Regions from separate parts of the Homo sapiens genome. Here region 2 is linked to region 1. The links are contacts of gene promoters, found by promoter capture Hi-C in human tissues and cell types (Jung and others, 2019). All regions are on one chromosome and are shown on one strand. Each heading gives the region's core, a stretch centred on a gene start or on the middle of the fragment in contact. The rest is flanking DNA. Distances are from core to core; before and after follow the strand shown. Region 1 holds the start of TTC27 (tetratricopeptide repeat domain 27). Region 2 overlaps LTBP1 (latent transforming growth factor beta binding protein 1).

Region 1 (3,992 bases), core at 989-3,488:
CCCCAGAAATAATATTCCTCATTAATAGGTATTTAGTCTTTTGCTGGGAAATTCACAAAGATTCCTACTGACAATACAAAAGTTTCCTTAGTCAAGGTTCTAAAACTTTTCACAATCTGGTTCTTTCTACCTCCATTATTTTCTCTTCTTGAAAAGTCACTCCAAGAGCGCTGGTTTACTCATTGTTTCCCTAATGTCCCATGCGTATTCCTGCCTCCACACTTTGCACTTGTGATATCGCCTGTTGAACTCTTCTCCACTTGTTAGTCTTACCCTTTAATCCAAAATCAGCTCAAGTCTAACTTCTTCTAGGAAAGTTTTCCAGGCCACCAAAGTTCAAACTTCCTGTCACTGGAAGCACCTACTGTGTCACACAAGTGCCCACACACACACACATACACACAGAGTACTTACACACTACACTGTTCATTATTACTCTTTTGGGTCCAGCCTAAATCCCACAACCAGATGTGCCAGTGCATGTGCCTTTTAACTCTTTATCTCTCTGGTAAATATTCATTGCTCACAAGAATTAATCTTTGCCTCCTAGGCTGGGCGCGGTGGCTCATGCCTGTAATCCCAGCACTTTGGGAGGCCGAGGTGGGTGGATCACGACGTCAGGAGATCGAGACCATCCTGGCTAACACGGTGAAACCCCGTCTCTACTAAAAATACAAAAAAAAAAATTAGCTGGTCGTGGTGGCAGGCGCCTTTAGTCCCAGCTACTCGGGAGGCTGAGGCAGGAGAATGGCGTGAACCCGGGAGGTGGAGCTTGCAGTGAGCCGAGATCGCGCCACTGCACTCCAGCCTAGGCGACAGAGCGAGACTCTGTCTCAAAAAAATAAAAAAAATAAATCATTGCCGCCTAGGCCGTGCATGGTGGCTCATGGCTGTAATCCCAGCACTTTGGGAGGCCGAGGCGGGTGGATCACCTGAGGTCAGGAGTTCCAGACCAGCCTGACCAACATGATGAAAGCCGTCTCTACTAAAAACACAAAATTAGCCGGGCATGGTGGTGCATGCCTGTAGTCCCAGCTACTTTGGAGGCTGAAGCAGGAGAATCGCTTGAACCGGGGAAGCGGAGGTTGCAGTGAGCCGAGATGGCACCAGTGCACTCCAGCCAGAGCAACAAGAGGGAGACTCCATCCCCCCAAAAAAACAACTTTGCTGCCTCATTTTAGCTCCTCTGCTTACCAACAGTGTGACCTTAAATAAATTACTTAACCAGACCCGGGCGCGGTGGCTCAGGCCTGTAATCCCAGCACTTTGGGAGGCTGAGGCAGGCGAATCATCTGAGGTCAGGAGTTCCAGACCAGCTAGGCCAACATGGTGAAACCTCGACTCTACTAAAAATACAAAATTAGCCGGGCGTGGTGGCGCATGCCTGTAATCCCAGCTACCCTGGAGGCTGAGGCAGGAGAATCACTTGAACCCGGGAGGCGGAGGTTGCAGCGAGCCGAGATCGCGCCATTGCACTCCAGCCTGGGCAAAAAGCAAAACTCCGTCTCAATAAATAAATAAATAAATAAATAAATAAATAAATAAATAGATAAAATAAAATTACTTAACCCAACTGTATTTACAGATCTTCACCGCAAAATGGGATTAAAAATTGAATCTACCTTAAGTATCTACTATAAGCATTAAATGACTGAGTACATGTTAAGGGCTTAGAAAAATAACTGACATTGCCATTGTCATTATTACTGAACCTGGGCGGTAAGAAGTTTTGCGCAAAGAAAGTGAGGACCACGCCCACCATGTCAAAGACTAAACGACCCAAAGCCTCAAGGAATCAGCTAGACTGTGTTAGGGAAAAATGAAGGGAGGGATGAGAATCAGTCGCTGCCATCCCTTTTCCTCACAGTTCCCACGATAGCCTAAGGCCCGGTAGGTGCGCCTCTCACCTGAACCGACGACCCCCTCCTGTTTCCATTGCTGCCGCTCAGCCTCAGTGGGGAATCCCCTCAGAATTGCCAGCTCCGGGGTCCACATCACCCCAGACACCGCTGCAGCCAAAACAGGCTCCCACGAGGGCCACACGGGAGTCAACAAAAGAAAGTGAAAACAGGAGAGTCCAAAGGCGCTGAAATCTAGTGGCGACAGTTACCGTAAATACACCTGCGGCCCTAGAATTCCATGTGCGGATACTACCTCAAGGAGGCGGCCATAACAGCAGCGCGGGGCACCCTGGGAAAAACACGCACGCTCTCTGGTCTGGCTTCCGCCTAGGAGAAGAACCCGAGCTTGAGTAAGGAGCCTGTTGGGTGGTTATGCCCCACCCCGGGGCGGGCAATAGGGGGAGTTGAGGGCGCGGTCGCGCTCAGCCCCGCCCCCAGTGGGACCGCTTCCAAGAACTGTGAACGTGGAAGTGAGTGTGCCTCCCACCGAGGGCTAGGGTTCAAATGCAACTCAAAACGGACGTCTTGGCCAAAGCAGTTTGATTAGAAGGGCTAGAGTTGTGATTCTTAAAGCATTTTGGGTTAGAACGCTCTCGACAACCCGATGAAAACCACAGTCCTTCGCGCAGAGTGCAGGTGGGCCCTTGCTCTCAGCCTAAGGGTACCCTCTCAGGGAATCACAGACCCTCTGACGTGGAGTCGGTGAAGCCCAGGTTGGAACCCCGTCAGCATAGCATGGGTCTTTCGGCGAATGAGCGTGTAAGGAAAGGATCTGGTTTTGACACTGCTCTACATGAATCATGGCCGGGTGGGAAATCTGCCCCTGCCGCTGGTGCAGGGAAGTTTTTGGAACACTGTCGGAACGCTGTAGAAGAGTGATCCCAGGGGTGATCACAAAGAAATTGCAAGGAGACAAACCAGCCTCCGCTGGTACCTTATTTGCACTTCTTTGAATCTTCCTAGCAGCACTCCAAAGAAACAGTTAGAGGGCGGGCGCGGTAGCTCACGCCTGTAATCTCAGCACTTTGGGAGGATGAAGCGGATGGATCACCTGAGGTCAGGAGTTCGAGACCAGCCTGGCCAATATGGTGAAACCCGTCTCTACTAAAAATACAAAAATTAGCCGGACGTAGTGGGGCACCCCTGTAAACCCAGCTACTCGGGACGGTGAGGCGGGGGAATTGCTTGAACCCGGGAGGCGGAGGTTTCAGTGAGCTGAGATGGTGCCACTGCACTCCAGCCTGGGCAATAGGAAAGAGGGAGGGAGGGAGGGAAGAAGGAAGGAAGGGAGGGAGGGAGGGAAGGAGGGAAGGAAAACAGGACTATGGCTTTGTCCCATTGGCTTGACACCTGTACTGAGATATGTCATGTAAGAGCCAGGAGAAAACTGCAGGGTAACTCTGACCACAAGAGCAAAAGCTCTCTGAAAAGAGGCTGACCCGGTACCCAGCTCCAAGGAAGAAGCTAAATAAATGTTAATTCACTTTCTTACTCAGTAAAGAGCCACTCCAGAATGTGAAGGGAGAGGAACTCAGCTCAGCTCATTTCAGCCATTGCCATCAGATACCAAAGGAAGCCGGACCTGACTGTGATTGGAGAAGAGCGGATGCCCTAAAATGTCCTCCCACTGAGAAGTAATTAAAAACTGTTTTTCAGGCCGGGCGCAGTGGCTCACGCCTGTAATCTCAGCACTTTGGGAGGCCGAGGCGGGCGGATCATGAGGTCAGGAGATGGAGACCATCCTGCCTAACAAGGTGAAACCCCATCTCTACTAAAAATATTTTTTTAAAAAATTAGCCGGGCGTAGTGGCGGGCGCCTGTAGTCCCAGCTGCTCAGGAGGCTGCCGCAGGAGAATGGCCTGAACCCAGGAGGCGGAGGTCGCAGTGAGCCAAGATCGCGCCACTGCACTCCAGCCTGGGCAGCAGAGCGAGACTCCGTCTCAAAAAAATAAACAAACAAAAAAAACCCCACTATTTTTCTAGAAAATGATACTTGACCAGGTTGTCTGTTCATTTCCTTAAGTATAAAAGCCAGCACTGTCTAAACTAATTTGATAATTGTTAAAGATGAACGTCTGTAAAAACACACTG
Region 2 (3,967 bases), core at 62-2,561, 660 kb before region 1:
TATTTTATTTTTATTATACTTTTAAGTTTTAGGGTACATGTGCACAACGTGCAGGTTTGTTACATATGTATACATGTGCCATGTTGGTGTGCTGCACCCATTAACTCTTCATTTAACATTAGGTATATCTCCTAATGCTATCTCTTCCCCCTCCCCTCACCCCACAACAGGTCCTGGTGTGTGATGTTCCCCTTCCTGTGTCCATGTGTTCTCATTGTTCAATTCCCACCTATGAGTGAGAACATGCGGTGTTTGGTTTTTTGTCCTTGCGATAGTTTGCTGAGAATGATGGTTTCCAGCTTCATCCCTGTCCCTACAAAGGACATGAACTCATCATTTTTTTATGGCTGCATAGTATTCCATGGTGTATACGTGCCACGTTTTCTTAATCCAGTCTATCATTGTTGGACATTTGGGTGGGTGTTTTTATAACTGCCAATCTTCTCTGGCATATAGATACACAGACAACAGCTCAATAAATAGCTTAGTGATTGATTAGAAGCATCCTTTAGCATATAATAATGTAGGGATAAAGCTAATGTTTGCACATAAAATATGAAAAAGGTACATGCTGTACTCAGTTGCAATCTTCTATAAAACAAATATCTGCTGTACCAAGTCTTCAATTTTGGATTAGTCTATGAATATTCATATAAGCCATGAAAGTTAACACTGAATCTTCAAATCTGAAAATAAAGCCTAGTGTGAAAAGAACTTCTAGAACAATGAGTTCTCCATGTTTTCTGTCCAAGTTTATTCTTCAAGTTCTCTGTGCCAGGTCTTGGTTAAGACTGTAGCTAATCAGTTGTCAAGTAGACTGAATGATACTAAATTCTTCAAATACCCAAGACCTACATTCACAGAGTTTAAATGGGAGTCAGAAAGTCATTCTCAACTTAATCAGGGGTTAAAAAAGAAAGATTACACTGACAAAATCTCAGAATTTTGTGTTACCGGGTCTCAAGTTCTATCACAAACTGAACTACAAAGCAAGACAACCCCCAAAAGGCTAGCTGCATATATCCAATAGGTGGCATATTCTGCCTTGTGAAGGTGAGCAGAGACAATAAAGTACAGGAATGGAAATAGCAGCATTATTATAGATGCCTGAACATTTGTTAGGAATCACTAATGACCCTACAGAGAAGTATCATGGCTCCCAAGAAGTATATTCCAGCTAAGTAAGAACACTAAGAAGTTGGAAGGAGTCAACAGACATATCACCCTGAACGTGCCCGATCTAGTCTGACCTTGGAAGCTAAGCAGGGTGGGCCCAGTTAGTATTTGGATGGGAGATATTGAACAGGAACCACAAAATTATTTACATTCATAAAAGAATGCTCCAAAAGGCCAGGTGCGGTGGCTCACGCCTGTAATCCCAGCACTTTGGGAGTCTGAGGAAGGTGGATCACAAGGTCAGGAGTTCTAGAACAGCCTGACCAACATGGTGAAACCCCACCTCTACTAAAAATACAAAAATTAGCCGGGCATAATGGCATGCAGCTGTAATCCCAGCAACTCAGGAGACTGAGGCAGGAGAACTGCTTGAACCCGGGAGGTGGAGGTTGCAGTGAGCCGAGATCGCGCCATTGCACTCCAGCCTGGGCAACAGAGGGAGACTCCGTCTCAAAAAAAAAAAAAAAGAAAAAGAAAGAAAGAAAAGAGAATGCTCCAATGACATAAGAAGAATTAAAAAACTATATGACATGAGCTTCAAAAAGCCAAAGAGAATATAGTTATATAGAAGAATGTGACCCGGGCACGGTGGCTTACCCCTGTAATCCCAGCACTTTCGGGGACTGAGATGGGTGGATCACCTGAGGTCAGGAGTTCGAGGCTAGCCTGGCCAACATGGTGAAACCCCATCTCTACTAAAAATACAAAAATTAGCCAAGCGTGGTGGCGGGCACCTGTAATCCCAGCTACTCGGGAGGCTGACGCAGGAGAATCACTTGAACCCTGGAGGCGGAGGTTGCAGTGAGCCGAGATCACGCCATTGCACTCCAGCCTGGGCGACAAGAGTGAGACTCCATCTCAGAAAAAAAAAAAAAAAAAAAAAGAATGTGATACATAACTTACTTTACCAAGTACCAGTTATTACTGCATCTCTTATGTTTGAGGACAAGAGCAGTATAGAGGAGGGTAATAGTTGGGGAAAAAGGGTTGTAGCATGGATGGGGTTCCACCATATGTCAGATGCCTACTAGGTGCTTCATATTGCTTACTTCATTCTGGCAAGAAAGCTTAAACAGCAAGTATTTCAATCCCCATTTTACAGATAATAAAACTAAGCTTCAGAGAGGTCATGTAGCCCAAACTCTGTCTAAATTCAGGGAACTAAGATCTCTACATTAGCAATATCAAATGTATCTTTAAATAATTAAATATTAGAGAGTTTCCTTGGGGGATGGCTCTCATCGGGTTTCAATCAGGCCAGATCTCCACAAGCCAAGAAGAACCTGTAAATTGAGTACCTGACAGGGTGGCTTCCCTTAAGAAAGGACTTGGTTGAAATAGCCATTTGGAACTGGCCAGAACCCAGAGTGATGAAATAGTCATTAAAGGTGGGGATCGAGTGGGCAGCAACTCCAGGCTGAATGTCAGGTCCAAGGAATACAGTGCCGAATGACGAACGTGACTCTCTAGAGAAGAATGAAATCCACGACTTGAAAGAAGAAGCTACGTTAACAGAAGAGCCAACAAGAGTTGCCAAAAAGCATTAGGGATGATGTGTGTTAGGTACAGTCTGAAATGATAGATATTTGAAGTGGATAATAAACTATTGAGGATGAGGGATTGTATGACCTGAGCTAAACACTAGGGAAAAAATGTAGTCCCTCAGAAAACACCTGCTAACATTTTGCCTATTTCTGCCCAAAACAATTTCTGCTCTAATTTATAAATCAAGGAGAAGCATCAATCAGTAAGATCCAGCTTACATGTCATGAATACAAAGAGGCCATTAACGGTTTCACCAAGTTCATCATTTAGTCTGTGAAAGAAGCAGAAAGTGTAACTGGTATAAAATCCCTGCAGAATATAGGGGTTGAATAGCAATGCTTAATGAAGTCATTCAATAGAAAGAGAGTCAAATCAACGTGAAGATAGACCAGTTTAGAAAAAAAACTATAAGCATAATGTGAAATTTAAGAAATGTTATATAAAACATTGTACATGTTTGATTATAACAATGTAAAAACATGTACTCAGTGAGAGGAGAGTTAGAAAAAAAGACACTAACATTTATGGAACACGGCAGCCCTGTGAGATAGACATTATCATCTCTACAGATGGCAACTAACAAATGACAAATGTAGGATTTTTCACCAAAATGGTGTGATTGCAGGAAACTTTTTAATGACCGGGCACGGTGGCTCACGCCTGTAATCCCAGCACTTTGGGAGGCCGAGGCGGGTGGATCACGAGGTCAGGAGATCCAGACCATCCTGGCTAACATGGTGAAACCCCGTCTCTACTAAAAATACAAAAAATTAGCCAGGCGTGGTGGCGGGCGCCTGTAGTCCCAGTTACTCAGGAGGCTGAGGTAGGAGAATGGCGTGAATCCGGGAGGTGGAGGTTGCAGTGAGCTGAGATGGCGCCACTCCACTTCAGCCTGGGCGAAAGAGCGAGACTCCGTCTCAAAAAAAAAAAAAAAAAAAAAAAAAAAGTCTTTAATGTTATCACGGAGAATTTTCATTAACAATTGGGGCAAAAAATTCATCAATATATCCTATATTATCAGAACTAAAAGGATATAATCACAGGTAACAGTTAGAGACAAAACAAATGACTAGCCAGGAAGAGCATGTTAATAACTTAGCATTTGACTATCCTGACCACCAAGGGATCTCTAAAGACTCTGAATCTTTTACTTTACTTTTCTTCACGTCATGCATCACATCTGACATCCTATATATTGTACTTGCTTATGTGTTTATTTGTAAGCACGACGTAAGCACTAGAGTAT

The links. Contacts are between HindIII fragments. The study calls those that stand out against the background at their distance.
Region 2: a fragment that was not itself captured here is called in contact with the fragment with the promoter of TTC27 in region 1 in 1 of the 25 tissues and cell types used here (bladder).

What each region holds. Positions count from the first base shown.
Region 1 is chr2:32,626,296-32,630,287 of GRCh38, reverse strand. It overlaps TTC27 (tetratricopeptide repeat domain 27), which reads right to left and starts at 2,238. Exons shown (of 20, transcript NM_017735.5): 1 at 1,908-2,238. The coding sequence starts at 1,995. LOC124905985 (a long non-coding RNA gene) reads left to right here and starts at 3,510. Exons shown (of 3, transcript XR_007086273.1): 1 at 3,510-3,655. RefSeq lists a silencer at 1,749-1,878 and enhancers at 2,129-2,188, 1,717-2,376, 2,599-2,658, 2,377-3,038. The HindIII fragment of the contact is 9,918 bases long and covers 1-3,992 here.
Region 2 is chr2:33,283,128-33,287,094 of GRCh38, reverse strand. The region is part of intron 19 of LTBP1 (latent transforming growth factor beta binding protein 1); the gene reads right to left. It also overlaps the pseudogene RNA5SP91. Among named protein-coding and RNA genes, the nearest start is that of MIR4430, 130 kb to the left of the region's middle. The HindIII fragment of the contact is 5,171 bases long and covers 1-3,896 here.